3 separate regions of the Homo sapiens genome follow, and all the other regions are linked to region 3. The links are contacts of gene promoters, found by promoter capture Hi-C in blood cells and fetal thymus (Javierre and others, 2016). All regions are on one chromosome and are shown on one strand. The core of a region is centred on a gene start or on the middle of the fragment in contact, and the rest is flanking DNA. Distances in the headings are between cores, read along the strand shown.

Region 1 (4,755 bases), core at 1,281-3,780, about 37 Mb after region 3:
GAGGTTGAGGCAGGAGAATCGCTTATACCCAAGAGGCGGAGGTTGTAGTGAGCGGAGATTGCACTACTGCACTCCAACCTGGGAGACAGAGTGAGACCCTGTCTCAAAAAAGAAAAGAAAAGAAAATTGTGCTAAAACTGGTTTTATGACAATAACCATGACCACATAAACCAAGAGTCTCCTCTGTAACCCACACAATAAGAAAGTTGCCCCCTCTCCCTCTCCCTCTCCCTCTCCCCACGGTCTCCCTCTCCCTCTCCCTCACGGTCTCCCTCTCCCTCTCTTTCCACGGTCTCCCTCTGATGCCGAGCCGAAGCTGGACTGTGCTGCTGCCATCTCGGCTCACTGCAACCTCCCTGCCTGATTCTCCTGCCTCAGCCTGCCAAGTGCCTGCGCGCTGCCACGCCTGACTGGTTTTCGTATTTTTTTGGTGGAGATGGGGTTTTGCTGTGTTGGCGGGGCTGGTCTCCAGCTCCTAACCGCGAGTGATCCGCCAGCCTTGGCCTCCCGAGGTGCCGGGATTGCAGACGGAGTCTCGTTCACTCAGTGCTCAATGGTGCCCAGGCTGAAGTGCAGTGGCGTGATCTCGGCTCGCTACAACCTCCACCTCCCAGCCGCCTGCCTTGGCCTCCCAAAGTGCCGAGATTGCAGCCTCTGCCCGGCCGCCACCCCGTTTGGGAAGTGAGGAGCGTCTCTGCCTGGCCGCCATCCCATCTAGGAAGTGAGGAGCGTCTCTGCCCAGCCGCCCATCGTCTGAGATGTGGGGAGCGCCTCTGCCCCACCGCCCCGTCTGGGATGTGAGGAGCACCTCTGCCCGGCCGCGACCCCGTCTGGGAAGTGAGGACCGTCTCTGCCCGGCCGCCCCGTCTGAGAAGTGAGGAGACCCTCCGCCCGGCAGCCGCCCCGTCTGAGAAGTGAGGAGCCCCTCCGCCCAGCAGCCGCCCCGTCAGGGAAGTGAGGAGCGTCTCCACCCGGCAGCCACCCTCTCCGGGAGGGAGGTGGGGGTCAGCCCCCGCCAGGCCAGCCGCCCCGCCCGGGAGGGAGGTGGGGGGGTCAGCCCCCCGCCCGGCCAGCCGCCCCGTCCGGGAGGGAGGTGGGGGCGGTCAGCTCCCCGCCCAGCCAGCCGCCCCGCCCGGGAGGGAGGTGGGGGCGGTCAGCCCCCCGCCCGGCCAGCCGACCTGCCCGGGAGGGAGGTGGGGGGGTCAGCCCCCCGCCCGGCCAGCCGCCCCGTCCGGGAGGGAGGTGGGGGGGTCAGCCCCCCGCCCCGCCAGCCGCCCTGTCCGGGAGGTGAGGGGCGCCTCTGCCCGGCCACCCCTACTGGGAAGTGAGGAGCCCCTCTGCCCGGCCACCACCCCGTCTGGGAGGTGTACCCAACAGCTCATTGAGAACGGGCCATGATGACAATGGCGGTTTTATGGAATAGAAAAGGGGGAAAGGTGGGGAAAAGATTGAGAAATCGGAAAGTTGCTGTGTCTGTGTAGAAAGAAGTAGACATGGGAGACTTTTCATTTTGTTCTGTACTAAGAAAAATTCTTATCCTGTTGATCTATGACCTTACCCCCAACCCTGTGCTCTCTGAAACATGTGCTGTGTCCACTCAGGGTTAAATGGATTAAGGGCGGTGCAAGATGTGCTTTGTTAAACAGATGGTTGAAGGCAGCATGCTCCTTAAGAGTCATCACCACTCCCTAATCTCAAGTACTCAGGGACACAAACACTGCAGAAGGCCGCAGGGTCCTCTGCCTAGGAAAACCAGAGACCTTTGTTCACTTGTTTATCTGCTGACCTTCCCTCCACTATTGTCCTACGACCCTGCCAAATCCCCCTCTGCGAGAAACACCCAAGAATGATCAATAAAAAAAATAAATAAATAAAATAAAAAAAAGAAAGTTGCACAGCATATTCCAACAAATATCAGTTTGGTACCTTTAGAGCCTTACTTTGTTGTAGTGATTATCAGCTGAAAATTATGTCTGTTGTAACTTTGGTAAGCATTCCACTTTGGTTATTTATTAGTGGTATTTTTTTTTTAAGTGTCAAGTGTCAAATCTTGGGACTATTAAAATACCATGGTAAGTAAAAAAAAAATATGGTCTGAGAACTGGTACCTATCCACGACATAAGTGCAGAAACTGAGAGTATGAGTTTGCATACTTTCAAAGTTACTCGACAGAGTTATTTCGTATATGCTAAAAAATAATAAGAAAAATCTGTACGTGTCTTTTCCATGTTTACATTTTTAAATTTCATTTTCCTAAGTATATTTTTGTGTATATTATAAAAGTAGTAGACTTCCAAGGACTAGGAGAACAACCTTAGATAGTAGAGAATCACCTAAACGACCTATATCTTCTTCAACAGCTTAAGCTGTGTACTGCGCTAGAGCCTCCCTCAATGAGGAACTACAATGCCCAGAATTCCCCCAAAATGCGTGAGCGACGTCCATTTCACCCACCTCGCCGCGACCCACCCTGGGATATGTAGTGCGTGACTTCCGCAGTGCACGCTGCGCCTGCCGGGCATTTTTTCCTGGTTTGGGGGCAAGGTCTCATGGGAAAGGTCATGTCTCTCGAAGAAAGGTTATAAACCCTGAGATATGAGGGTTGGGCGAGACATCCGAGCCTGTTTCGTTCCGTGTTGGGACCAGGAATAACCCTGACTTCTGAGCTTTCATAACCCCAGGATCCTCCAGAAAATTTGCGGCGCGCTGAGGGAAAACCTTGCTGGCAAGTCGGGACTGTGTGGCAGCGGCTATTTTTCTTTTCCCACCCAGCACGTTTTCGGGCTGGGGACATAGGGTTCAGTTGAGATACGGAGGCTTCCTTCGGGATATTGGGTTCTCTGAAGTGCGGATGGACTAGGGCAGGGCTGAGACCCCATTCATTCACTCATTTGTTTAGCTCTCCTTTATGCCCGGCGCAGAAGATACCCCTTAGGGTCCCAAGGCCCTTCCTGTAGTTAAGTTCCTTCCTTAAGGTCATTCAGCTGGGGCAAAGCTGGGGACTCGACACCTTTCTATGCTAACCATTGAGCTGCCTCCACTTTGAGCAGCTCAGTGGATGAATATAGTATCTTGAGGATACCTTTGATTTGTGCAGGGTTTTCTTGTGCAGGTTTGTGACCCAGGTCAGCTTAGGTCAGGATGCTGTACTGCTTGCCACAAAATAGCCTGTACTGTCGCGTCGTTTTTTCTTGTGAACAGACTGTTTGGCATAGCCGTAGAGAGGGGTCTGAGACATGAATTTAGTGATACAGCGTTGATTTGTTTGTGTAATGAAGCTGTTCAAGTGGAAAGAACTGAGTTGTAGTCCCTGCTTCACTAGTACTAGAAGGATTTTTTAAACCTTTTTGAACCTATTTTGCCTTATCTGTAAAATGGAAATAATATCAACCTGGAAGGTTAGCTGAGAGAATTTAATGAGATAATGTGTTTCAAACGTTCTTTGTAAATGGTAACATGTTGCAGAAATATTAGATTATATGACTTTAGTCCCTGCTTTTCTAACCATTACTTCTCAATTATAAATGTAAACATTTATAGCATATTTTTAAAACAAATTATTCTTTTTTCATAATTATCTTTAGTTCTTTTATTGTTTCAGCATGACTTGAAACATTACTTAATTTCTTAGTATTTCTTGATTGGTGCTTTAATTGTGTCGTTCATTGGTTAAAACCTATCCAAGGCCAGTAATGATTAAATTATATGACTTCTTTTATTTATTTATTTTCTAAAGAAAGGAATTATTTGAGCTCTTTAAGGGCACAAGAAAAAGGGGCAAGAAATTATCCTGAAAGCAAATAAACCTGAGACCATACTTCTGAAAAATTAAAAAAAAAAAGTATATATATATGTATGTATAAATATATATGGCTCTGAATTAATGCCTACACTTTTTAGAAACTTTGAAGGTGATTATTTATTTTAAACAATTTTCCTCTTTTTCGAAAAGACAGCTCTGAGTTTGTGGGCTTTTTTTTTCCTTTTATGGTAAATTTGAAAACTTTATGTAAATGTCAGATTTAAAACACTTTTAAAATGGGGTGCAGAAAGAAGCCCCTTTTTCTGGACATTTATTTTTTGATCAAATTCTGCTATCTGGTTTAGACTAAGAAAAAGTCTTTAGTTAATGCAGAAAAAATGTATTACTTTAATTTGAATTTTGGAATCATTTTGATATTAATGATGTAAGCATAACCATGTTAAACCAATTCTTTTATAGAAGCTGTACATTGGAATGCGTTTACAGTCATTGTAATGGAAGCAAAATACATGAAGGAAAAACTGTTATTTGTATCCCTGCTTATTGCACCTGACGACTAGTTGCAGATGGTTTTGTTTACCTAAGAAAACTTGTGATATAAATGAAAAAAACACCTGTTTTCCTAGAGTCATTGGTTACAAATATGCTTCGTCTAAGAGCTATTTGTCCATTCTCCTGGAGAGTGTTTCAATTTCGACCCATCAGTTGTGAACCACTAATTATTCAGATGAATAAGTGTACAGATGAGGAGCAAATGTTTGGTTTTATTGAAAGAAACAAAGCCATACTTTCAGAAAAGCAAGTGGGATGTGCATTTGATATGCTTTGGAAGCTTCAAAAGCAGAAGACCAGCCTGTTAAAAAATGCTGAGTATGTCAGAGACCATCCTCAATTTCTTACTCTTCATAATTTAGCTACAAATAAATTCAAATTAATGAATGACGATACCCTGGTGAATGTGTTATACGTCACACAACAGTAAGTAATTTAC
Region 2 (4,992 bases), core at 761-3,260, about 54 Mb after region 3:
CCCAAAAGAAGTCAACGAAATTACTTTTCTATATTTTGAGGTAAAATACTGGGTAGTTAGGAGAAGTGAGTTGGGAAGGTGCGGTTTATTGCTGATTTTGCTTAATTTCATTCAGCTGTTGGGGATGGGAGTGCAAAGCAGTTCAAATGGCTCCTACAAGTCTCCCAATTTTTCTTTATTTTCCTTTTTACTAAGGTTAACGAGAACAGAAAGGGATGGAGCTTTGGTGGCCACTAAAGGTTTTTAAACAGGGTAGTGACTTGATCAAAATCGTTGTTTTGGGCAATACTGACGTGAGAGTTAAGAGATTGGAGAGAAAAGAGCCCTGAAGTGCAAAAATGGCTTTAAGGTGACTATCTAGGTAAGGCCACTGACTTCAGCTGAGTGTCAGAGGGCAGCAGACTTTTCCCTCAAAGACCCACAGGGGACACAATGTCTTAAAGAGTCATGACGTGGAACTTTAAGTGTAGTGTATGTGAAGGGTTGGGGATGGACATGGGGTACTCAATTATATGTTTACATTATGGCGCAGTGGAGAAGATTCGAGGGAAATATAAATACTCGGGGACGCAACAGCAAGCAGTCGGAAGCCATCTGCCCCAACTTGCGGTCTTCACAGCCTCAGTCCCAGGGTAAAGTCCTGCGCCTTCCGCAGTCTTGGTTATGCAAATAAGCGAGGACAGGGCGGGCGCCCTTTCCTACGCTCCGCCCCTCTGGCCGCGCGCCTGCGCACTCACGTCCCTCCAGGCCCGCCCCTTCACTTCCCCCGCCCGCGTGGTCGTCGCCACCGCAGCCGCCCGAGAGGAGCTGGGGGAGGACGGTGGCCCGCGAGGCTCGTCGCAGACAACGCGGCGGCGATGTCCGCGAGCCAGGCGAGTGCCGCGGCGGCAGCGGCGGGGCCTTGCGCGCGGCAGGGCGGCCTGGGCTTCGGCCTCCCTCCGGTTCCCTGGAAGCGGGCCCGCGACCAGCGCGGGAGCAGCAGCAGAGGCGGAGGCTCCAGCGCGTCTCTCTCCTCCCCCTCAGCCTGAGCCGGGGGAAGCCAGGCGGCCCGGGTGTCTGGAGGGGGGGGGTCCGCTGCCCGAGAATGGGAATTCTCTTCACTAGAATATGGAGACTGTTCAATCACCAGGGTGAGGAGCTCGGTCCGCGGGCGTACGGGTTGGGGAGAGGGTCAGCTCGGGCCGGCTAGGTGGGGGTCTCCGAATACTTCGGAATGTGGGCGGCTCGGTCGGGCGCCAGCTCAGCGCGGGGTGCAGGCTGCGCGGATACGGGCCCGGGACGGTTCGGTCCCGGCTCCCGAGCTTGGGGATGGTTCCTGACTCGCAGCCCTTTGTCTTAGGAGACCTTCCTAAGAAGTCTTTTCCGTAATAGACCCATTGCTCCGATTTCGAATGAGAGTGGTAAAGGTTTCTTGCCCTAGGTCCGACGTCCCTGAGTAGCACGGCCTGGCCTGTCTTTCAGCCCTTTCTTTGCTCACCAGTTGTGTTTGGACACCACATAGAAGTGCTGGGGTCTTCTGGAATGAAGGTTATAGATTGCTGCCCTAACCGCACCACTGAGCGACCGAGGGTTGCAGAATGCGGAAAACGGGAGGAATCGCTCGACTTGTCCATTACACCTCTGGTTTATGAGCCTGCCCTCCACTGCCACCCGTCTTTGTGTGTGTTGGGGGCAGGGGGGGTTCTTCTGCCTCCTGAATAGAGATGGACTTCTCTCCATTTGTTTTACTTATTATATCTGTGTTTAAGGTTAAGCTTAAGGTCATTTTTCTACTCGTGTGGGTTATTAGACACAGTTTTTGTTTGTTTTGCTGGGTTAAAAATGTTAAAGTGTTTCACTGAAAGTTTTAAAAACATACCATATGAAACATTTGTTAACCATAGGTAACTAGCAAGTTACTAAGTGTAAAGTGTGTTATATAGGGATGCTTAAGTTCAGCCAACTTCAGACATGGCCATGAAATACCTATCAGGCTTGTTAAAATTTGTTACAAAATGACTAAAACTGGGGAAAGAGAATACAATTTTAACCCAAAGACTGGATACTTATTAAGATACAGTGGTGTACTTTTGTTTCTTTTTAACTCAAGTTGGGTGGTTCATCATTCCGCTGTCAGGAACTTAGTTTGTGTTTTTCTGTTGTGTAAGCTGATGGTGTCACGTCCCAGTTTTCCAATAAAGACTTACGTGAATGGTGGCATCTATTATGTACACCTACTACTACCACCTCCTCCTTCATGATCTAGCTGCTCTTTTAAGAAGCTTAGGGGAAGCAAGCAGAACTAGAACTTGTGATCCCTAATGTATCTTTTACGCACACACACACACACACAGATGTGTAGGTCACGTGATACCGAAAGAAAGGGCAGTATCAATTTTTCTGATAAGAGGATTTTTCATAAAGTAGAGAAAATCAGTTCTAATCAGCACTGTCTCTGACTGGACTGGCTGTTAGTGTTGGGAGCAGGAGAGTGGGAAGCAGTCACTTGAACTCTCAGGTTTTCTGGTCTAGGTTTTCTCACCTAGAACACCAGGGATCTGTGGAGCTTCCAAATCTTGTAAACTTTATTTCTACATTGCAAATATTAAAACGTACATTGCTGTAAGACTGATGGTACTTATAGTAGATAAGATCTATTCTAGTTTTAACATCCATCATTTTGTATTATTTTTAGCAAAGCTAGTGTTTCATCTGCTGTGAGGTTTAGCAAGACTGTGAATTGAGCTCTAGTGCTGCCAGAAAAAGAGTTATCACCACTTTCTATTTTGAGTCAATGATAAAATTATTTGTTTCTGTAAGTTAAGAATAAATGAGAACTTTGCCAACAGCTCCTTGGAGTAGTAAATAATAAGGGTGTGTGCTCTGGTATCACTACAAATTGCTAATAGTAGTGTTTTTATAACCTGTATTTTGTGGTAATTTTTGACGGGACATTTATGGCAGTTTGGCGGAAATTAATAGAGAAATTAATGAAGTTAAGTTCTAGAAAATTAGATATGAATATTGTGAAAGTGTGAATAAATTATTTATTTTCTGCTAAACAGTGTGGCTGTCTTATCAATAGGGTCACTTTTCCGAATATCCACCATTTAATCTAATGCCAGATATTTGTTGGGTTTTGTTTTTGTTTTTGTTTTTTTGAGATGGAGTCTTGCTCTGTCACCAGGCTGGAGTGCAGTGGTGTGATCTTGGCCCACTGCAACCTGTGCCTCCTGGGTTCAAGCGATTCTCCTGCCTCAGCCTCCCGAGTGGCTGGACTACAGGTGCGTGCCACCACACCCAGCTAATTTTTGTATTTTTTGTAGAGATGGGGTTTCACCACGTTGGCCAGAATGGTCACCATCTCTTGACTTCGTGATCCACCCGCCTTGGGCTCCCAAAGTGCTGGGATTACAGGCCTGAGCCATGGTGCCCAGCAGGGTTGTTTTTTTTTTTTTCTGTATAGGACATATATAAGTTAGATATGTGTTGGATGCTCTTGTTTTACCTTCAGTGGATTCAGAATGCAATCTTACTTTCTTTTCATAGAAACTCTTGGAAAGTATGTTTCGGGAGATTACAGAATTTGCCATCTGATGAAACTTAAACTATGCAGTATCTCCTGTTTCTGAAACCCCTCGAGAACAGCTTTTTCAGTTAAAGCTCAGATTGAGTGCACAGTGAAAGCTATTTGTATACCGCTCGAACTAGAAAAACCAGAGGTCACATTTAGTTGATACTGAGATTCAGTAGAGTACAAACTTTATCCTAGATGCTGTCATTTAAATCATTTTATTTTATTTTATTTTATGTTTTAACAATCTTTTGAAGTAGTTATTTCCCCTGAAAAGGGAAAACTGAGGCTTAAGTGGAATGATTTTTTTTCCCCAGGCCATGCAACTGGTATATGCCAGAGCCAGGCAAGTTAAAACCCTGAAGGAATCTCTTAAAGAAGAGATTGACATCATTTTTCCCTCCCTCCTCCTCCCCCCATTAACTTTTTCAGTTGCTAATCTCTAAGTTGTCTTTAGAACTTCGAAAAGTTGCCATTAGTAACTTTTTTTTATAGAAGAGCTTGTGATCAGTGGTTTACTTGTTCTCAATAAACAAATATTTTAACACCTATTTAGTCCAGGAAGTGTTCTACATGGTGGGATAAGGGAACAAAACAGACAAATTCCACTGCCTTTATGGAGCTTTCATGTAGTGTTGGGAGACAGGAAATTAACTCACTTTGTCTCTACAAGTAAAATAATAGTGGTTAACACTTGTGCAAGGTTCACACAGGTTGTTTGATTTAATATTCACTTAGTTGATTTACTCTTTACAACAACCCTACAAGGTAGATATTATTCCCCTTATTTTACAGGGGTACGGAAACAGGTAACTTGCTTTAAGCACTATAGGTAAAAGTGATAGACCTGGATTTTAACCACGATTACGTAGTGCCGGAGTTATTTCTCCTACGCACACACACCTGGATTTTAACAAGATTATCTAGTGCCAGAGTTAGTTCTACACACACATGCACGCACGCACATTTGCACACAACTTCGTGTAAGAAGGACTTTGTATAAGAAGGACTCAGATAAAAAGAACTGACTGATGTGAACTATAAAAGAAGTTGTGGAATTTCCTCATTAATAGCCTTGTATTGCTCTCTTGGTTGGTTGCTAGAAAAGGAATTATAAGTATGAATGGGTGCAGGAGAAGCTGCCTGTGCTTCAGGAACCTGATGCTGAGGAAGCCACCTCTGTTTCTGGCTTATTATTGTTGTTATTATTATTATTATTATTATTATTAGGGAGTTTAAATGTGTAGAGAAGAGTACATATGGAAGCTGAGTAGCCAAGGGGTAGACTGTGTCTTAGCTTCTAATACAGATGCTCCTCAATTTGTGATAGTTGATAATTTGTGATAGATAGATAATTGAAAATACAGTAAGTAAAAAATGAGTTTAATATGCCAGACTTACTGAAAACCATGGCTTTAGCCTAGCTTGCTTTATACGTG
Region 3 (4,762 bases), core at 2,228-4,727:
CAATCTTTTATTTAAATGCCATGATCCAGGATGGATTTTAGATCTTGTTGAAAGCAGCCACATCCATGGACTGCACATAGTCCTCAAAAGCAGTGATCTGCTCCTCCAGCATATCTGTTCCAACTTTATCATCTTCAACTACACACTGTATTTGAAGTTTCTTAATTCCGTATCCCACTGGAACTAGTTTAGCTAAAAAGAGCATTAAGAAAAATCCTAGTTAGAAAAGTCTTGTAGGAAAGGTTGAAACTGTAGGCAAATTCCAGATGTTAGTTTCAAAAAAAAAAAGGCAAAGCCTAAACTCACATGAGCCCCAGACTAAGCCGTCTGCTTGAATGCTTCTGACGCACTCCTCTAATTTCGCCATATCTGTCTCATCATCCCAAGGTTTCACATCTAGTAAGATGGAAGACTTGGCAACAAGTGCAGGTTCTAAAAACAATAAACAGCATTATTCAAATAATGAATTGTATTTTTTTCACCCTACTCCAAGACACAAACAAATCCATCTCAATTTGTTTTGAGACTATCTCCTTAGCCAAACAAAACTACAGATACATCTTGTGTCTGTCACACATATATACCCACTTTCTGTTTTGCTAAGAAAGAGGTGTTTGTGTTAACAGTTTCTTTCCCACAGAGGAATGCCACAACTGCTACCATAAGAACAGCTGCAGACCAGTAGCTGTGGAAGAACCTGTACAGGTTTTAAAATATTGACCTATTCAAGGAATGTGGAGGAAATTACTTCAAGGTCAAGCTTTGAAAAAGATTACTTACATTAACATGAAATGAAGTTAAAAACAAATGACCTACTTTTGGCTTTCTTTGATTCATATTGTGCAAGACGTTCTTCCCTTAGCCTCTTTGCTTCTTCACTTTCCTGTAAAGAAAAAAAATTAATCCACTTCAGAAAGCTGGTTGTTCCTCTGCTTAAAGCTAGTGGGGTCATCACAAAAAAGACTGGCTTAATCAGAAAAAAGCAAATCCATCACGAACTCAGCCGAAAGATGGTGATTTGATTTTATTCATCATGCAACCAGTCAGAATTTGAAAAAGGCATATAAATTAAAGCCAGGATTCAAATCCAGGCAATTTGGCTTAACCACATTGATACAATTGCTGATCGATGTATTCTTTTTTTTTTTTTTTGGGACGGAGTCTCGCTCTGTCGCCCAGGCTGGATGCAGTGGCACGATCTTGGCTCACTGCAACCTCCGCTTCCTAGGTTCAAGCAATTCTCTGCCTTAGCCGCCTGAGTAGCTGGGATTACAGATGCCTGCCACATTTTTTTGTATTTTTAGTACAGACAGGGTTTCACCATCTTGGCCAGGCTGGTCTTCAACTCCTGACCTCGTGATCCACCCGCCTCAGCCTCCCAACATGCTGGGATTACAGGCATGAGCCACTGCGCCTGGCCGATATGTTCTTTATAGAAGACGCCATACCTCCTCATCATCAGATCCAAAGAGGTCAATGTCATCATCATCTTTACTATCTGTAGCTCCACTTCCTGTAGTGTCTTCCACATCGGCAGGACCATATTTGCCCAAAGCTTTCTTCACTCCTGGCAGGCTTGAAAAACATTTAAATTCAACCACTATTGAGCTAGTATAACATCCTTTTCCAGAAAATACAAAATAACTTGTTTTAATCACTACTTATCACTAGATCCCTTTTGCAATCATAATTTACCCTTTCACATGCGCCCAGGTAAACACTGTCATATGTTCAACTCCTCACCCGACAAGCATTAGTACCATGTGAGACATTATTTTCAATACTCACTATGATTTACTCTTTCAGTATGAACATTTCTGTTTGAGATTTCATTAAGTATGCTCAGTTCCATTCTTAGTGAACTGGAGTCCACTTCCCCAAACTTCCACCCTTGTTGGCAGTTTCAGAAGAATGGCCAAGGACTGAATGAATGAGCCACCCTCTCACCCCAGAGGTGGGCCCCCCAGGTCAAGGTCGAGGCACATTGGCAGGGCAGTGTGGGGAAAAGTTGAATTGCTGCTGTCCATGTTCTACCTGTTCTGTGAAAAAATGGAGGGCTTCAGTCTCTTGGCCTTCTAAGGTTACAGAAAAATTTAGCTTACAATATCCCAACAAAACTAAAGTAGCCTGGGTCCAGTTTTGTCATGTGAACATCCTGATAAACTTCGAGAGCAGTCTTATTCTTCAGCTCTATACAAAGATGATTTTACCTGGCCTTTTCCTTTTCGTAAGACTTGATGTGATTATACCAACGTAGGGCATGACACAAGTCGGCAGGCGGTGGGCTGGACACGGCTTCAAATACTGCCACATCTGCTTGTGATGGCACATACCTGCCAAGGACACAGAAACATTCACACACACCTTTGAAAAACAAACGCCAGCGAATAAATAATAAATACCGTATGCATCACATTAATTAGTGGGCACTAACCCCAGCAGGGTTGCTTTAATGCTTTTCTTTTCTTATTAGCTCCTTCAAATCAAACCATATGTTTGGGTCACCGCGCTATCCTGAGAAATGTCTGCCACTAAGTAGACCTCAAATACTGCAATGTCTGGCGTTGCTCTATCTACAGCTTAACATGTATTAACTGGGCAGCGATGCGGAAACACCTGGCTGAATTAAGTGTAAATAAAGCACATTTTAACCTTTCCTTGCTCGTGAACCGCTCCCCGGAGGCCGGGCTCGCCCCACACGAGGGCCTTGGGAGACGGCAACGGGGCGCTTTCCCCTCCCTCTCGAAAGGGCCCCGGGCCCGGCCTCCCTCCCTCCCGCGGCAGCCGACACGCTGCGCCACGTGGCCCCGGCCCCGGGCGGAGAAACCTCCCCGCCACCCCGACTCAGCCCGTCCGCTCACCCCTCGATGTAGCTCTTGTCCGCCAGGTAATCGTTGAGCACCTGGAGGCCGGCAGGGCTTTTCAGGTCTCCGAAACCCATGGTGTCGGCTGTATCCGAGAGCTGGGGAGCAGCAGAAAGAGAGCGCGCAAATTGTGGGCGCCCCACGCTGAAGAGAGGAAAAAGGACCCGAAGAGACCGGAAAATTCCTTATATAGAGACGGAGGCGTTTCCCTCCACCGCGCCGGACCGAAGGTTAAAGGTCAAAGTACTTTTGCATTCCCACTTCTCCACGTACGAATTGGGGGCCCTGAATTAAATGGCCCACAAATTGTCCATGGACCTTTCGTTGCGTTTGGAAGTAAATTAATAAAATAGGCATGTCTTAAGTTCGTACCTCCACGGCTCCCGAAGATGACGGGAACCAGCCCTAGAAGCGCCGGAGATGACCGAAGACGCCCGGCCTCGAGGCTGGGGCCACTTCCGGCGGAACTGCGGGTCCAAGTTGTCCTTCCCGCCTCCGGGCTGGGCCGACCTCAGCTCCGCCCTCTGGTCGGCTGACGGAAATTGCCGACAAACTTGTCGAATGCAAGGATTCTAGTCCCTCCGGGCTTTCCGTTCTCCAGGCCCGGCTGACAGAGTTAGCCGAGGCCGCCATATTGAATAAGCGACCCGGCCTCCTAGGGGGTCGTCGTGGTCCAGACAGTTTAGCAGAACAGCCTCCGCGGCTCCGGGGAGAAGGTGAGGTCTTGTATGGATGGGAAGGGTGAGGTGCGTCGGCCAGAGGCTTATTTATTGACGGGACTGTTTCCTTTGGCCCACGCGACGTAGTCTTCTGTTGTCCTTGACTGGGCGCCGCCTCCCGCCCCGCCGCCTCGGAAGCCCCTGAGAGCCGGCAGATGGGGGGCTTTTAGCCACGGTCTCTGGTCTGATGAAGCAGAAAAGAAGATGAGGATCAGGGGGTCCTCGGGAACGCTGTCACGAATGTAGGCTTGCAGGTGACCTTCCCTCTGCAGGGAAAATTCAGGACATTTCCCTCTCAGAGGAGGAGGCCGTTTTATTCCCCGGGAGAGGACCAGTGTCCGATGACTTAGGCCTTAAGACTAAGCCTTTCCCCCCAGATTTTTACACGCCTGATACAGTGCATGATTGTTTGGTCGCTGTTGTGTTAGCAATGGCTCACGCTTCTGTTTGTTGTCCTTGTTTGTTTGGTCCATTGACCACGTTGGACAGCATTTTTTTATTCCTTTAACTAACGGGAAATTGAGAAAAACGACTTTTGAAAAGTTAGCCCAGGATTGCATTGCAAATAACAAAACGTTGTTTACAGGTTATTGGGATCCAGTGCTTGAACTGTAAGGTCTTGGATCAGACACAACTCTGTTCACACACGAATTGACGGTATAGAAGTGTAACGTTAACTGTTTTTGATGAATAAACAAGTTATTTTTGTTTTGCGGAATATTCTTGTTTTCACCGACTTAAGGCTGCCAGAGCACCTGCACTTTTTAAATCCGGGAAAGTGGTCTCTACAAATTAACGACCAGAAATTAGAGATTCAGTTCACTTAACCGTTATTGAACATTTACTACGAGCCAGAAATGAGTCCGTAAAGAAGAATAAAATGGATGATATGCTGGGGGAATCGTAAATGTTAGATAGCCTGGTCAATGAAACTGAGAAAAGGCTTTTAAGCCAAGATTTGAAGGATAAGGAGGGGCCAGGGAAGAGCATTTCAGTCTGAGGTCACAGCCGGTGGCAAGAGGGGAGAGGCTGTGTGGGAATAGTGTGGAAGCTTGGTGACCTGTTAAGCTATTGAAGGCCGGAGGCGGTGGCTCACTCCTGTAATCCCACCACTTTGGGAGGCCGAGGCGGGCGGATCACGAGGCCAGGAGATCGAGACCATCCTGGCTAACACGGTGA

What was found. Contacts are between HindIII fragments. The CHiCAGO score rates a contact against its expected background, and 5 or more counts as called.
Region 1: a contact is called between the fragment with the promoter of FASTKD1 here and the fragment with the promoter of NDUFS1 in region 3, in 2 of 17 cell types (total CD8 T cells and total CD4 T cells). The highest score is 6.8, in total CD8 T cells.
Region 2: a contact is called between a fragment that was not itself captured here and the fragment with the promoter of NDUFS1 in region 3, in 1 of 17 cell types (naive CD8 T cells). The highest score is 10.4, in naive CD8 T cells.

The regions. Positions count from the first base shown.
Region 1 is chr2:169,571,640-169,576,394 of GRCh38, reverse strand. FASTKD1 (FAST kinase domains 1) reads left to right here and starts at 2,530. Exons shown (of 15, transcript NM_024622.6): 1 at 2,530-2,726; 2 at 4,224-4,742. The coding sequence starts at 4,366. RefSeq lists enhancers at 2,319-2,418, 2,321-2,923, 2,779-2,948. The HindIII fragment of the contact is 12,279 bases long and covers 1-4,598 here.
Region 2 is chr2:151,824,269-151,829,260 of GRCh38, reverse strand. ARL5A (ARF like GTPase 5A) reads left to right here and starts at 840. Exons shown (of 6, transcript NM_012097.4): 1 at 840-1,130. The coding sequence starts at 1,085. RefSeq lists an enhancer at 515-564 and silencers at 615-1,124, 1,175-1,224. The HindIII fragment of the contact is 507 bases long and covers 1,757-2,263 here.
Region 3 is chr2:206,158,159-206,162,920 of GRCh38, reverse strand. NDUFS1 (NADH:ubiquinone oxidoreductase core subunit S1) reads left to right here and starts at 3,477. Exons shown (of 19, transcript NM_005006.7): 1 at 3,477-3,580. It overlaps EEF1B2 (eukaryotic translation elongation factor 1 beta 2), which reads right to left and starts at 3,026. Exons shown (of 6, transcript NM_001959.4): 1 at 2,862-3,026; 2 at 2,211-2,333; 3 at 1,449-1,575; 4 at 817-883; 5 at 307-432; 6 at 1-192. The coding sequence starts at 2,941. The coding sequence ends at 38. It overlaps SNORD51 (small nucleolar RNA, C/D box 51), which reads right to left and starts at 1,040; the gene lies at 971-1,040. It overlaps SNORA41 (small nucleolar RNA, H/ACA box 41), which reads right to left and starts at 693; the gene lies at 562-693. RefSeq lists a silencer at 2,690-2,759 and enhancers at 3,020-3,279, 3,390-3,799. The HindIII fragment of the contact is 3,079 bases long and covers 1,558-4,636 here.